3 separate regions of the Homo sapiens genome follow, and regions 1 and 3 are each linked to region 2. Evidence: promoter capture Hi-C in 16 types of primary human blood cells and fetal thymus (Javierre and others, 2016). All regions are on one chromosome and are shown on one strand. Each heading gives the region's core, a stretch centred on a gene start or on the middle of the fragment in contact. The rest is flanking DNA. Distances are from core to core; before and after follow the strand shown. Region 1 holds the start of DLEC1 (DLEC1 cilia and flagella associated protein). Region 2 holds the start of SCN5A (sodium voltage-gated channel alpha subunit 5). Region 3 holds the start of ACAA1 (acetyl-CoA acyltransferase 1).

The links. Contacts are between HindIII fragments. The CHiCAGO score rates a contact against its expected background, and 5 or more counts as called.
Region 1: a contact is called between the fragment with the promoter of DLEC1 here and a fragment that was not itself captured in region 2, in 1 of 17 cell types (fetal thymus). The highest score is 5.3, in fetal thymus.
Region 3: the fragment with the promoter of ACAA1 here is called in contact with a fragment that was not itself captured in region 2 in 2 of 17 cell types (fetal thymus and activated CD4 T cells); the score reaches 5.8 in fetal thymus.

What each region holds. Positions count from the first base shown.
Region 1 is chr3:38,037,630-38,041,583 of GRCh38, forward strand. It overlaps DLEC1 (DLEC1 cilia and flagella associated protein), which reads left to right and starts at 1,579. Exons shown (of 37, transcript NM_007335.4): 1 at 1,579-2,007. The coding sequence starts at 1,597. RefSeq lists enhancers at 1,644-1,853, 2,144-2,373. The HindIII fragment of the contact is 3,706 bases long and covers 1-1,941 here.
Region 2 is chr3:38,648,979-38,652,911 of GRCh38, forward strand. It overlaps SCN5A (sodium voltage-gated channel alpha subunit 5), which reads right to left and starts at 709. Exons shown (of 28, transcript NM_000335.5): 1 at 553-709. RefSeq lists a silencer at 668-827. The HindIII fragment of the contact is 703 bases long and covers 1,865-2,567 here.
Region 3 is chr3:38,134,678-38,138,653 of GRCh38, forward strand. ACAA1 (acetyl-CoA acyltransferase 1) reads right to left here and starts at 2,450. Exons shown (of 12, transcript NM_001607.4): 1 at 2,188-2,450; 2 at 1,915-2,008. The coding sequence starts at 2,358. RefSeq lists enhancers at 3,565-3,976, 3,668-3,976. The HindIII fragment of the contact is 10,893 bases long and covers 1-3,976 here.

The DNA of each region.
Region 1 (3,954 bases), core at 329-2,828, 610 kb before region 2:
GGGAAAGAGTGCGGGGGACAGCCAGAGATGGGCCTCTCAAGCACACAGTCCAGGGCAGGCGGCCCTGGCTTCTCAGCTCTCAGGACAGAAAAGGTCCTGGAAAGGACAAAAGAGAGAGCCAGGCCCAACCAAGAGAAGTAGAAGTGGAAGTAGCCCAGGTGTGTGGGCAAGCATGCTAGCACTCATCTCTGGAAGTGGGTTTCAGGATGTAAGGCAAGCAAACTCAGTGTGGAGTAGAAAGTGGTTGGTTGTATCACCTGTGAGCAAAAGCCATGGTGTGCAAATGACAACAGTCAATGTGATGTTATGCTGCTGCCCTGGACAAATGCAGTCCTCTTTTCCATCTCAGTGATGCTGTCATCACCCCCCTGATTGCACACACAGGATACCTGGGAGTCATTCTTGGTGCCTGTTTCTTACCTCCCATTATCCACCAGCAAGTCTTATCAATTCTACTTTTTGGATCTATCTCCAATCCAGTTCCCTCTCTCTCATCCAATCTCCCTTCATCTCTTTCCTAACTTCTGTGCTAGTTTCCTAACTGAACTTCCTGATGCCTCTTGCCTCTCCTGTCTATTCTCATAGCAATCAGAATGATCTTAGTAAAACAGAGCTGACCATGACATGCCCCAGCTTAAGACCCTTGATGAACCTCCTACTGCCCTCAAAATAAAGTCCAAATTCCCTATTGTGGCCTACCAACCCACTTATGATCTGGCCCTAACCTATCAGTGTCATTCCTCCACCCTCACACTCTTTAAGTTCCACTCCTCCTGAATTTCATTCCGTCCTTCCCACATTTTTAAATATTTTGTAAAGATGGGGTCTCCCTATGTTGCCCAGGCTGGTCTCAAACTCCTGGCTTCAAGTGATCCTCGTGCCTCAGCCTCCCAAAGTGTTGGGATTACAGGTGTGAGCCACCACACACACGCTCTTATTTAGGTACTTTTTTGTTTTTTGTCATTCTACTAACTGTAGTACTGCATTGTGGTTTTAATTTCCACTTCTTTGATGACTAATGATGTTCAGTCTACTCCTTCTTTGAAATCTCTGCTTGGTTTTCATTTGTTCCAAGAAGTAATCGCTCCTTCTACAGACTAAGTTCCTGTCCTCCTTTGTAGTTCCATGACAACCAATATTTATCTCCACCTTGGCCTTAACCCACTAAAGTACAGTTGTTTTACTTTTACCTCCACACCCACCGCCATCATCACAAACACACACATACACGACTGTGCACTTCCTGAAGGCAGAAGCAGCATCATACTTCTTTGGTATCTTCAGCAATCAGCACAGACCTGAAACACAATCTTTACACAATAAATATGATGAGTGAATGAACAGTTGCTTAACAAATTAAAGAATGGATGAAGGTAGGTAGTTAGGTACAAGGTTTTGCAGATAGGCCTGGCTGTGTCAATTAAACCTTTCTTCATGGGTCCTCACACTTAGTAAGCTCACTTTTAAAAGGACAATGCTGAAGACACAAATGTTTACAATGACCACAGCGATGACGGGATCCGAGAGAAAGGCAAGGCGGAAGGGGTGAGGCCGGAAGCCGAAGTGCCGCAGGGAGTTAGCGGCGTCTCGGTTGCCATGGAGACCAGGAGCTCCAAAACGCGGAGGTCTTTAGCGTCCCGGACCAACGAGTGCCAGGGGACAATGTGGGCGCCAACTTCGCCACCAGCCGGGTCCAGCAGCCCCAGCCAGCCCACCTGGAAGTCCTCCTTGTATTCCTCCCTCGCCTACTCTGAGGCCTTCCACTACAGCTTCGCAGCCCGGCCCCGCCGCCTCACGCAGCTTGCGCTGGCGCAGCGTCCCGAGCCTCAGCTGCTTCGTCTGCGCCCCTCCTCGCTGCGCACCCAAGATATCTCGCACTTGCTCACCGGCGTCTTCCGCAACTTGTACTCAGCCGAGGTCATCGGCGACGAAGTGAGCGCAAGCTTGATCAAGGCCCGCGGCAGCGAGAATGAGCGCCACGAGGAGTTCGTGGACCAGCTGCAGCAGGTAACGTGGCGGTGGCGTCGCGTCTGCGGACGGTGCCGGGGTCTCAGCGCTCGGCACGCGTCAGCACCTGCCAGGTGCCAGGCGCTGTTCCAGGATCTGGGGCTGCAGTTGAGAAACAGCCCATCATGCCGAAGTGGGCCCGACATTCTAGTGGAAGGACGCTCTATCCATACACACACATGCGCAAATACCACACATACCACACAACGTGCGGCATATATCTGTAGCACCTGTCTATATTTCTCTAGACACATACGTTATATATTGCATATATCAATGAACGACTGCGGCAGACCGCTGAATAGTTGTTCCATGGAGAGGATAAAGCCAAAAGTCACCCGGCTTTGGGGTGCCTTTGTATCACAAACCACAATCTTGACTGGGCCATTCATGCGCAGATTTTAGGAAGCGTGTCTAGCCTCTAGAACAGCAACTCTGCTTCCTCATCTGTACAAGGAGAAAACCAGCTGACTCGCGGCCTCTGTGCTGAGTCGGCCTCTGCTGGCCACACTACTGAAGACTCCCTTAAACTTGTGGGCACTCCTCCCATACCCGATCCTTTACCCCGGTGTGCTTCCTGCCTCTCAGATCTTCTTCTTCTCCTTTCTGTTCTGTCCTCTACCTGCCCCTTAAGTGACATGCATCCCACGTCGTTAGCTTCAGTCATTCCTTCACTTAACACATTTGTTGAATGTCTGCTGGGTGTCATACTCTGTTCTAGGCAGTGGGGATTCAGCAGTGAATAAAAACGCCAGTGTTCGGGCACACCCACACTCACACACGCAACCTGTCCTCTGTAGCTTTCAACCTAACTGAGGTAGATAGACATTAACAAAATGAATACCTATACAGTATGTGAGATACTTACAGGACCAGTCTCGCCGCCTCCACGGGTTATAGGCTTCTTAAAGTGCAGCCAGAGCCCCTGGCTGGGATCCTGTACTCTGTGATTCGTGGGTCACCACATTCACTCTGCTAAGACTTCAGCCTACCCAGCCAGACCTTGCCCTTGAACTTCAGACTCACATCCCTGTCATTCACATGAGCCAGAATATATGGAGCATTATAAACCTATAAACCCCATGACCAGTCACCCAGTTCACTGGATTCTATCTTCTCAGTATCTGTCCCATAAGTAGCCACTATACCAGAGTCTGAATTGGCAAATAGTGATCCCTTTTTTTGAAGAAAAAAAGTAATACATATTACAAATTTTTTTTTTTGACAGAGTCTGGCTCTGTTGCCCAGGCTGGAGTGCAGTGATGTGATCACAGCTCACTGCAGCCTTAACATCAGGGGCTCAACTGATCCTCCCTCCTCAGCATCTGGAGTAGCTAGGACCACAGGTGTGCACCAGTATGCCCAGCTTATTTATTTATTTATTTATTTATTTGAGATGGAGTCTCACTCTGTCACCCAGGCTGGAGTGCATGGCGCAATCTCAGCTCACTGCAAGCTCCACCTCCCACATTCATGCCATTCTCCTGCCTCAGCCTTCTGAGTAGCTGGCGCCTGCCACCACACCTGGCTAATTTTTTTGTATTTTTAGTAGAGACAGGGTTTCACTGTGTTAGCCAGGATGGTCTCGATCTCCTGACCTCGTGATCTGCCCACCTTGGCCTCCCAAAGTGTTGGGATTACAGGCATGAGCCACCACATCTGGCCTAAATTTTTATTTTTTAAAAATTGTGAGATGGGGTCCCACTATGTTGCCCAGGCTGGTCTCAAATTTCTGGCCTCAATTGATCCTTCCACCTCAGCCTCTCCAGATGCCGGTATTACAGGTGTGAGCCACTGTGCCTGGCCCACATTATAAAAATCTTAATTTAGAAGCTGAAATTTAATTTAAACATTTGAAGTTTTAAAATTGCAGAAATTTCAGAATGCAGAAAAGTTTAAAGAGTGATCCCCTATAGAAATACAACTATGCGGCCGGGCGTGGTGGCT
Region 2 (3,933 bases), core at 966-3,465:
CTCGTCCCACAGAGAGGACAGCCCCAGCGGACGGTTCCCCCTGGGCCCAGAGAAAGGGGGTGCGTGGCTTCCTCCCCCATATCCAGCCCTGCTCGGTCAGCCCCCGCAAACCCCGCTCTCTGGAACCACATTCATGGCGCGCCTAGTCGCCGCTCTGACCTTGGGGTCTCCGGCCTCCGGTATCCGGGTCCCAATCCCAGACCCTCCCCGAGCCTGCGCCAGGGATGGCCGGGAAGCTGGGGCCGCAGCTCCCCCTCCCCCGGCCCTCGACAGCGCACCGGGAAACCCGGAAGGAAAGGGAAGGGAAGGGGGGCGCACGGTGTTTAGAGACGTCTCCCCCGGGGATACCCTCCAGCCGGGCGGATCTGCGCCCCTTCTCCCCCTCCGGCTCTCTGGGGCACTGATCGGGGAGGGAGCGGCTGGGCGGACCCGGGGCAGGGAGGAGCACGCAGGGACTGGAGGCTTCGGCCCTCGGGGAGGAAAGTTGGGCGGCGGCAGGCGGAGGGGGCTCCGGCCGGGCCAGGGCTGCCGGGCGCGGGGGCACTCGCTCACCTGCTGGTCCCCCGGCCGGGCCCCGGGGTGGGCGGCTGCTGCTTGGCGCGGACTCGGCTCGGCGCGGGGCTCGGGGCACTGGGCGCAGGCTCAGCGGCCCCGGGGGAGCGATCCCTGCATCCTACGGGCGCCGCCGCCGTCTCGGCTCCGCGGCTCTGTTCGGGCTCCCGGGCTGGGCAGGCGGCGCGGGCTCGGGCTGGGGGCGGGGTCGGGGGCGGGGTCGGGGCGGGCCCCGCCTGGGTTCGGCCTGGGGCTTGGGGCCCCGGGCTGGCTCCGCCCCAGAGCGACGCGCCCAGGGCTCCGCACGTGGTGCTCCGCCCGCTCGGAGGGGGGACACACCAGCGCCCGCCGGGGCGCACACTCCCACACTGACCCGGGGGCTCACAGCCACAGACAGCCGCACACGCGGCCGCGGACAGACAGACATAGGCGGGGGTACACACACGGCGACCCGGCGACGCTTCACCACAGATGGCCACCCACGCGGACGCGGACAGGCTCACATTAACAAACACTGGCATACACACCAGCACCCGCCAGAGTATACACACACACACACGCAACCTTGCTGACTTGGGAAGGCTACCAGACACCCACCCACCCACGTGGACACGGGCATACACTGACACTCATGCCGAGACAGACACACGCTGCCATAGGCATACCTGCACTGACACAGACACACACATGCACCCTGAGACAGATACACACCCCCACACACCCACACAGACACAGACAGACACATCATTGACACACACTGACACTGAGGAAGACACTCTGACAAACTTAGACACCCACATGACTTAGACACACATCCACTGACACACTGACACAGAGACACACACACTCACTCGAACCACACTTTCCTGGAGACACACTTAGTGATGCCACAGAAATCTGCACAATGGTACACATCTACCTGAACACACGGACGCACATGCTGACAGAACCAAACACACACCCAGACCCAGAAGCAAGCAGGCAACCAACACAGAGACACCCACACACGCGCGCGCGCAAACACACACACACACATACATATATATACATGTATATACCTCTTTATATATATACTTCCACCCTCTTGAGCCACATACAACCTTCACCTTGACACATGCAGAGCCTGGAGTCACATACTTACACACCCACTGTTTCTCACTCAGAGACATGGTCACAGGCACACACACACGGAGACATACGCTGACAAACAGTTGCTCCCATGCCCATGCCCAGGACCTATGGGGACACACTTCTTGTTTAAACAAAACAGGCCATCAGGGCAACCCGCTTGGGTCCCCTTCCACGCTGTGGAAGCTTTGTTCTTTCCCTCTTCACAATAAATCTTGCGCTTCTAAAAACAAAAACAAAAACAAAACAAAACAACAACAAAAAACAGGCCATCAGCTTTTGCCCACGAAAAAAGTACAGTCATTGGAAGGGATGGTACACTTTTCTGCCACATTTTCAGGGCTCCCAAAAGCAAGAACCGCTCTTAGAGAGCCAAATGGGTGCCAGGGTCTCAGAGGGCACAGAGGTGCTGGGTTTGGGAGCCCAGAGGCTGGGACCTGCTCCTCCATGATGGGGATCTTGAAGAGGTGGGAGGGCAAAGAGGGGGGTGGGGGACAGCGTCCGTTTGCGACCTGGGTGTGGGGCTTCGTTGGACGCCTTAGGTACATACGGAGGGGCTGCTCTGCTTGCAGGAGGGGATCAGTAGGAAAGTCAGTCCACAGGAAAGTTCAGGACATGGGCCTCTCCGGCCCCGAGTTGAGTGGGGTGTCTGGGGTACAGACGGATGGACCACACAGGTCGGCTGCCAGCCTTTAGCGCCTGACGAGCCTCAGGTTGGCTAGCAGCTCCCACTATCGGCCAGAAGGGGAAGTGCAGGCAGTGTCAACGTTTCAACCCACGTGCAGCCGCCTTCCCAGAGTCACACCTACCAGGCAGGAGAGTACAGTAGCAGGAAGGTCCTACCTCCCCTAAGAACTTCCATCACGGGCTTCTCGGCCTCAGAATGAAGCTTCTACTTGCAAACTGACATTGGGTCAAGCAGGAGACAAGGCTAGGATAGAAGCTGCTGGGAGTAGGGGTGGATACCTGCCTCCCTTCCGTCCATATGTAGCAGAAGTGGGGTTTTCACTCTCCTGTTTAGTATTGGGCAACTGGATGTTGCCAGCAGGAGAGGTGGGCTGAGCCTGGTAAGTCTACATGCACCCTGAATTTAAACAGGGGGAGAGAAGCCCAGGGGATGGGGAACCAGAGCTCTGAACCTGTAGAAGTTCATCCATAAAAGCACACCTTGTGGTCCTAGAGAGGCCTCAGAGTGCAGAGACAGGCAACAGGTGTCTGGAGACAGGCACTTCCTACAAAGAGCCCTTGCCAAGATCTTGGCTACTCCCTTCTCTTTGCCAGACCCTATTTAAATTTTTTGTTTTGTTTTGTTTTGTTTTGTTTGAGACGGAGTCTTGCATTGCCTCCAGGGCTGAAGTGCAGTGGCGTGATCTCGGCTCACTGCAACCTCCGCCTCCCCAGTTCAAGCAATCCTCCTGCCTCAGCCTCCTGAGTCTCTGGGATTGCAGGTGCTCGTCACCATGCCCAGCTAATTTTTTGTATTTTTAGTAGAGACGGGGTTTCACCATGTTGGCCAGGCTGGTCTCGAACTCCTGACCTCGTGATTTACCCACCTCGGCCTCCCAAAGTGCTGGGATTACAGGCGTGAGCCACCATGTCTGGCCAACCCTATTTAATTAAAGCAATAACAGGAACATGTTGTCAGCTGTCAGAGATAAATGTTTTTAAAAACTAGTATGTCCTTTATTCGCCCCTCAGTTTCGCCCAGGGTTTGCCTTTACTTTGCCTCAGGTTCAAAGCTGGGTTAACCATATCATTACTCCTCTCTTGTGTTTTTGTTTTATTTCTTCCCCCATCATCACTCCACTGCCATCTCCTTCTCCACACAGGCACCCCTCTAGGAGCTAAAGTAGGTCTTTATGTGCACATCCTTGTAAAACAGGTAGTATTGTTGTTTGTGCATATGCATTTTCTCTTCTAACAGCCCAAAGCTTTTCTTTTTATGTTTTACTTCCATTGAACCTACATAATGGAAAACTGCACAAATCCTAAGTGTTCACTTGAAAGGGTTTTCTGTTGTTGAACACATCCGTGTGAGCAGCACAACACAGAAACCAAACGTTATCAGTACCACAGAAGACCTCTTTGTGCCCCTTTCTGTCACCACCGCTACACCCACCCAGAGTTAACTACTACAGTCACATCGAATTCCCCTTGCTAGTTTTGCCTGGTTTTGATATTTATTTAAACTGGAATTGTATAATAGGAGCTCTTTTGTGTCTGGCTTCTTTTGATCAGCTTTACGCTCATGAG
Region 3 (3,976 bases), core at 1,200-3,699, 510 kb before region 2:
TGTGCCTTGTCAACATATGTTTGCAGACAGTATGCTTGGTAAAAGTCATCGTCATTCTCCATTCTCTATTAACCAGGGACATGATGCACTGTGGAAAGCCGCAGGGACCTCTGCCCAAGAAAGCCTGGGTATTTGTCCAAGGTTTCCCCCCACTGAGACAGCCTGAGATATGGCCTCGTGGGAAGGGAAAGACCTTACTGTCCCCCAGCCCGACACCTGTAAAGGGTCTGTGCTGAGGAGGATTAGTAAAAGAGGAAGGCCTCTATTTCCCGCACATCCCTGGGAACGGAATGTCTCGGTGTAAAGCCGACTATTGGTTCTATTTACTGAGATAGGAGAAAACCGCCCTGTGGCTGGAAGCGAAATATGCTGGCAGCAATACTGCTCTGTTACTCTTTGCTACACTGAGATGTCTGGGTAAAGAGAAACAAAAATCTAGCCTACATGCACATCTCAGCACAGTACCTTCCCTTGAACTTATTTATGATGCAGATTCCTTTACTCACATGTTTTCCTGCTGACCTTCTCCCCACCATCACCCTGTTCACCCCGTTTTGCCTGAAGAGGGCCTGCCCCTCCACACCTGTGGGTATTTCTCGCAAGGTGGAGACGAGAAACTGAGAAAAGAAATGACACAGAGACAAAGTATAGAGGAAGAAAAGTGGGCCCAGGGGACTGGTGCTCAGCAATTGAGGACCTACACCAGCACTGGTCTCTGAGTTCCCTCAGTATTTATTGATCACTATCTCTACTATCTTGGCAAGAGGGATGTGGCATTATATACCATTACTATAAGGTAATGGTGGGGAGGGGGTCAACAGGAAAAAATGTGAGCAAAGGACTCAGTGTCATAAGTAAGTTTAAGGAAAGGTGCTGTGCCTGGATGTGCACATAGGCCAGATTTATGTTTGACTTTACACAAACATCTCAGTGCAGTAAAGAGCAGTATTGCCGCCAGCATGTCTCACCTGCAGCCATAAGGCGGTTTTCTCCTATCTCAGTAAATAGAATGTATGGTTGGGTTTTACACCCAAGACATTCCATTCCCAGGGACAAGCAGGAGACAGATGCTTTCCTCTTATCTCAACTGCAAAGAGGCCTTCCTCTTTTACTAATACTCCTCAGCACCGACCCTTTACGGGTGTCTGCAAAGAGGCCTTCCTCTTTTACTAATACTCCTCAGCACAGACCCTTTACGGGTGTCGGGCTGGGGGACTGTAAGGTCTTTCCCTTCCCACTAGGCCATATCTCAGACAATCTCAGTGGGGGGAAACCTGGACAATACCCAGGCTTTCTTGGGCAGAGGTCCCTGCGGCCTTTCGCAGTGCACTGTGTACCTGGTTAATCGAGAATGGAGAATGGCGATGACTTTTACCAAGCATACTGCCTGCAAACAAATGGTTAACAAGCCACATCCTGCACAGCCCTAAATCCCTCAAACCTTGATTCAATACAGCACATGTTTCTGTGAGCACAGGGTTGGGGCTAAGGCTACAGATTAACAGCATCTCAAGGCAGAAAAATTTTTCTTAGTACAGATCAAAATGGAGTTTCTTCTGTCTTCCTTTTCTACACAGACACAGTAACAGTCTGATCTCTCTTCCTTTCCCCCACACTGCCGCACTCCCCTTGCCGAGATAGTGAAAATAGTAATCAATAAATACTGAGGGAACTCGGAGACCGATGCCGGTCACCTGGGCCCACTCTACACTTTGTCTCTGCGTCTTATTTCTTTTCTCAGTCTCTCCTCCCATCTGACGAGAAATACCCACAGGTGTGAAGGGGCAGGACCCCTTCAAAGGTCAAGGCCATGGAGGTTCCCCCAGTGAAAATTCGGGGCGGGGAGGTGAGGAGAGCTCTGGACGAACGGAAGAACGGGGAAGGCCCAGCGCAGGGCCTGAGTGGTTCGCTCACCGACACAGATGTCCCCCAGCTGTTCCGGCCTCAGATTCACGTCCTTGAGAACCGCGGTCATGACTGCCGAGAGAAGCTCGTCGGGGGTGGTGTCCTGCAGCAGAAAGAGCAGCCGCAGTGACCCCCACTCCCCCATGCCCACCCCAGGGAGACAAAGCGACCACAGCTGGGTGCGGAGCTGCCTCCGGCGTCCAGGATAACCAAACATACGAACCGGACCCCAGCCCGCGCCGGCGTCTTCCCACACTCGGCGCCCAGACCCTCGGGCCTCACCTTGAAGCCGCCGCGGCCCGCCCGGCAGATGGCCGTGCGCCGCCCGTGCACCACCACCACGTCCGCGGCCGAGGCCTGCGGGGCACCGCTCAGGCAAGGCGCGGCCTGCGGCATCCAGCCGGAATCGGCCGGACCCCTCAGGTGGCCCAGCACTACCTGCAGCCTCTGCATTGCGCAGGTCAACCCTGCAGACCAGCCACCAGTCCGGGAACTGACCGCGGAGTTAACAGACAGCCGTCCGCACACGCGCAGAACCACATCTCAGCCTCCAAGGCCTCAACTCCGCCCACAGCTCTGCGAACAGACGCGAGCGACCCTCCAAAAGTCCCGTCCACCTCCAGCCTCAGCCAACCACAAGGAGAGTCGGCCTGGGAACCCGCCCCTCCCCGCCACCGCCTACCAAGCCCTCTATAGGAGGGCCCACAGGCACCGCCCAGCCGAGCTTTCCACTCAATGCCCCGCCTACCTTGGCCTACCGCAGCCAACCAGAAGGTGTATCTTTACGAATCCCCGCCCAGAAATGCAGACCGGAAGTCTTTCCACCTTTTGTAGCCAAACCCGAGACCTGACCCCCAAATCCCTGTCTCCTGCCCGCAGCCAAACGGAAGGCTGGGCAGCCAGGACCGCTTACTGCTTGGGGGCTGGAGATGGAAGCCGAGGCTCTAATTCCTCTACCCACTTCCTAGGAGGCTCTGCTATCCCTCCGGTCCCAGTACCCGAGCTGGGGGACCTAAATACTTCCGAGACGCCCGAGTCCTGCTCCGACGTGGTTGGGCTTTCCCATTCTTTCGAGAAGACAGGGAATTTGGGCTTCCGGGCTGGCCGGGAGAACAGATTTTACAGACATGCGGGGTGTGACAAGCTCTCTAACTGGAGAATGAACATTTCACACTTTTACCAGTTTTACACCCAATTGGAATGATTTTATTAGTGCCCATTTCCCGTGCTAGGCTGGGGTCTCCACCAAGGCAGAGAGGTACCATGTATCCGGGGAGCCTGCGACACCCTTGACACTTAGTAGATGATCAATAAGTACTTGTCGAATGAGTAAATGAATGAACCAGGGCTCCCCAGGTCAGGACTGTGTCCCTAAACCTAAAGGGCAAGGCCACGTGCCCCCTTGACTCCCAATAGCAGGGCCATGTCTTCACCTGAGACCCTGGAGAGTAGTGCTGGGCTTTCCACAGACACCAAAGGACAGGGTGCCTTGTGCTCCCCAACCTAGTGTCATGACGTCCCCAACCATTTCGAGGGCAGGGCCACGGCATGCCTCAGGCTCCAGAAGGCAGCTGTCCGTTTCCCACTCCCACCTCGGGGAGCACAGCAGGGGTCTTCCCATACCCCTACTGGCAGGATTGCGTGTTCCCCAGAGACAGTGGAGGGCAGAGCTGGTGCCTTCCCACTTGTCCCCTCCTCGCCATCCTCGAGGGCAGGACCGTATGAACCCCTCAGATTCCTCCGTGGAAGAACTGTGGCTCCACCAGATCCCAAAAAGCAAGGCCCGTTTCCTACAACCCCCGAAGGAGGGTCGTCCTCACTCCGCCGCCAACCTACTAGCACCATCACCAGACCCTCGAGGGCGGTGCCGTGGACCTCTCCAGATCTCAAAAGGCAGATTCCTACTTCTTACGCCCCCCACATCACCCGCCTCGAGACCTCAAGGGTAGAGGTGGGCACCCCCGCCTCCGCACTTTTGCTCGGGGCTCCAGATTGTAGGGCAGGGCGGCGCTTCTCGGAAAGCGAAAGCCGGCGGGGCGGGGCGGGTGCCGCAGGAGAAAGAGGAAGCGCT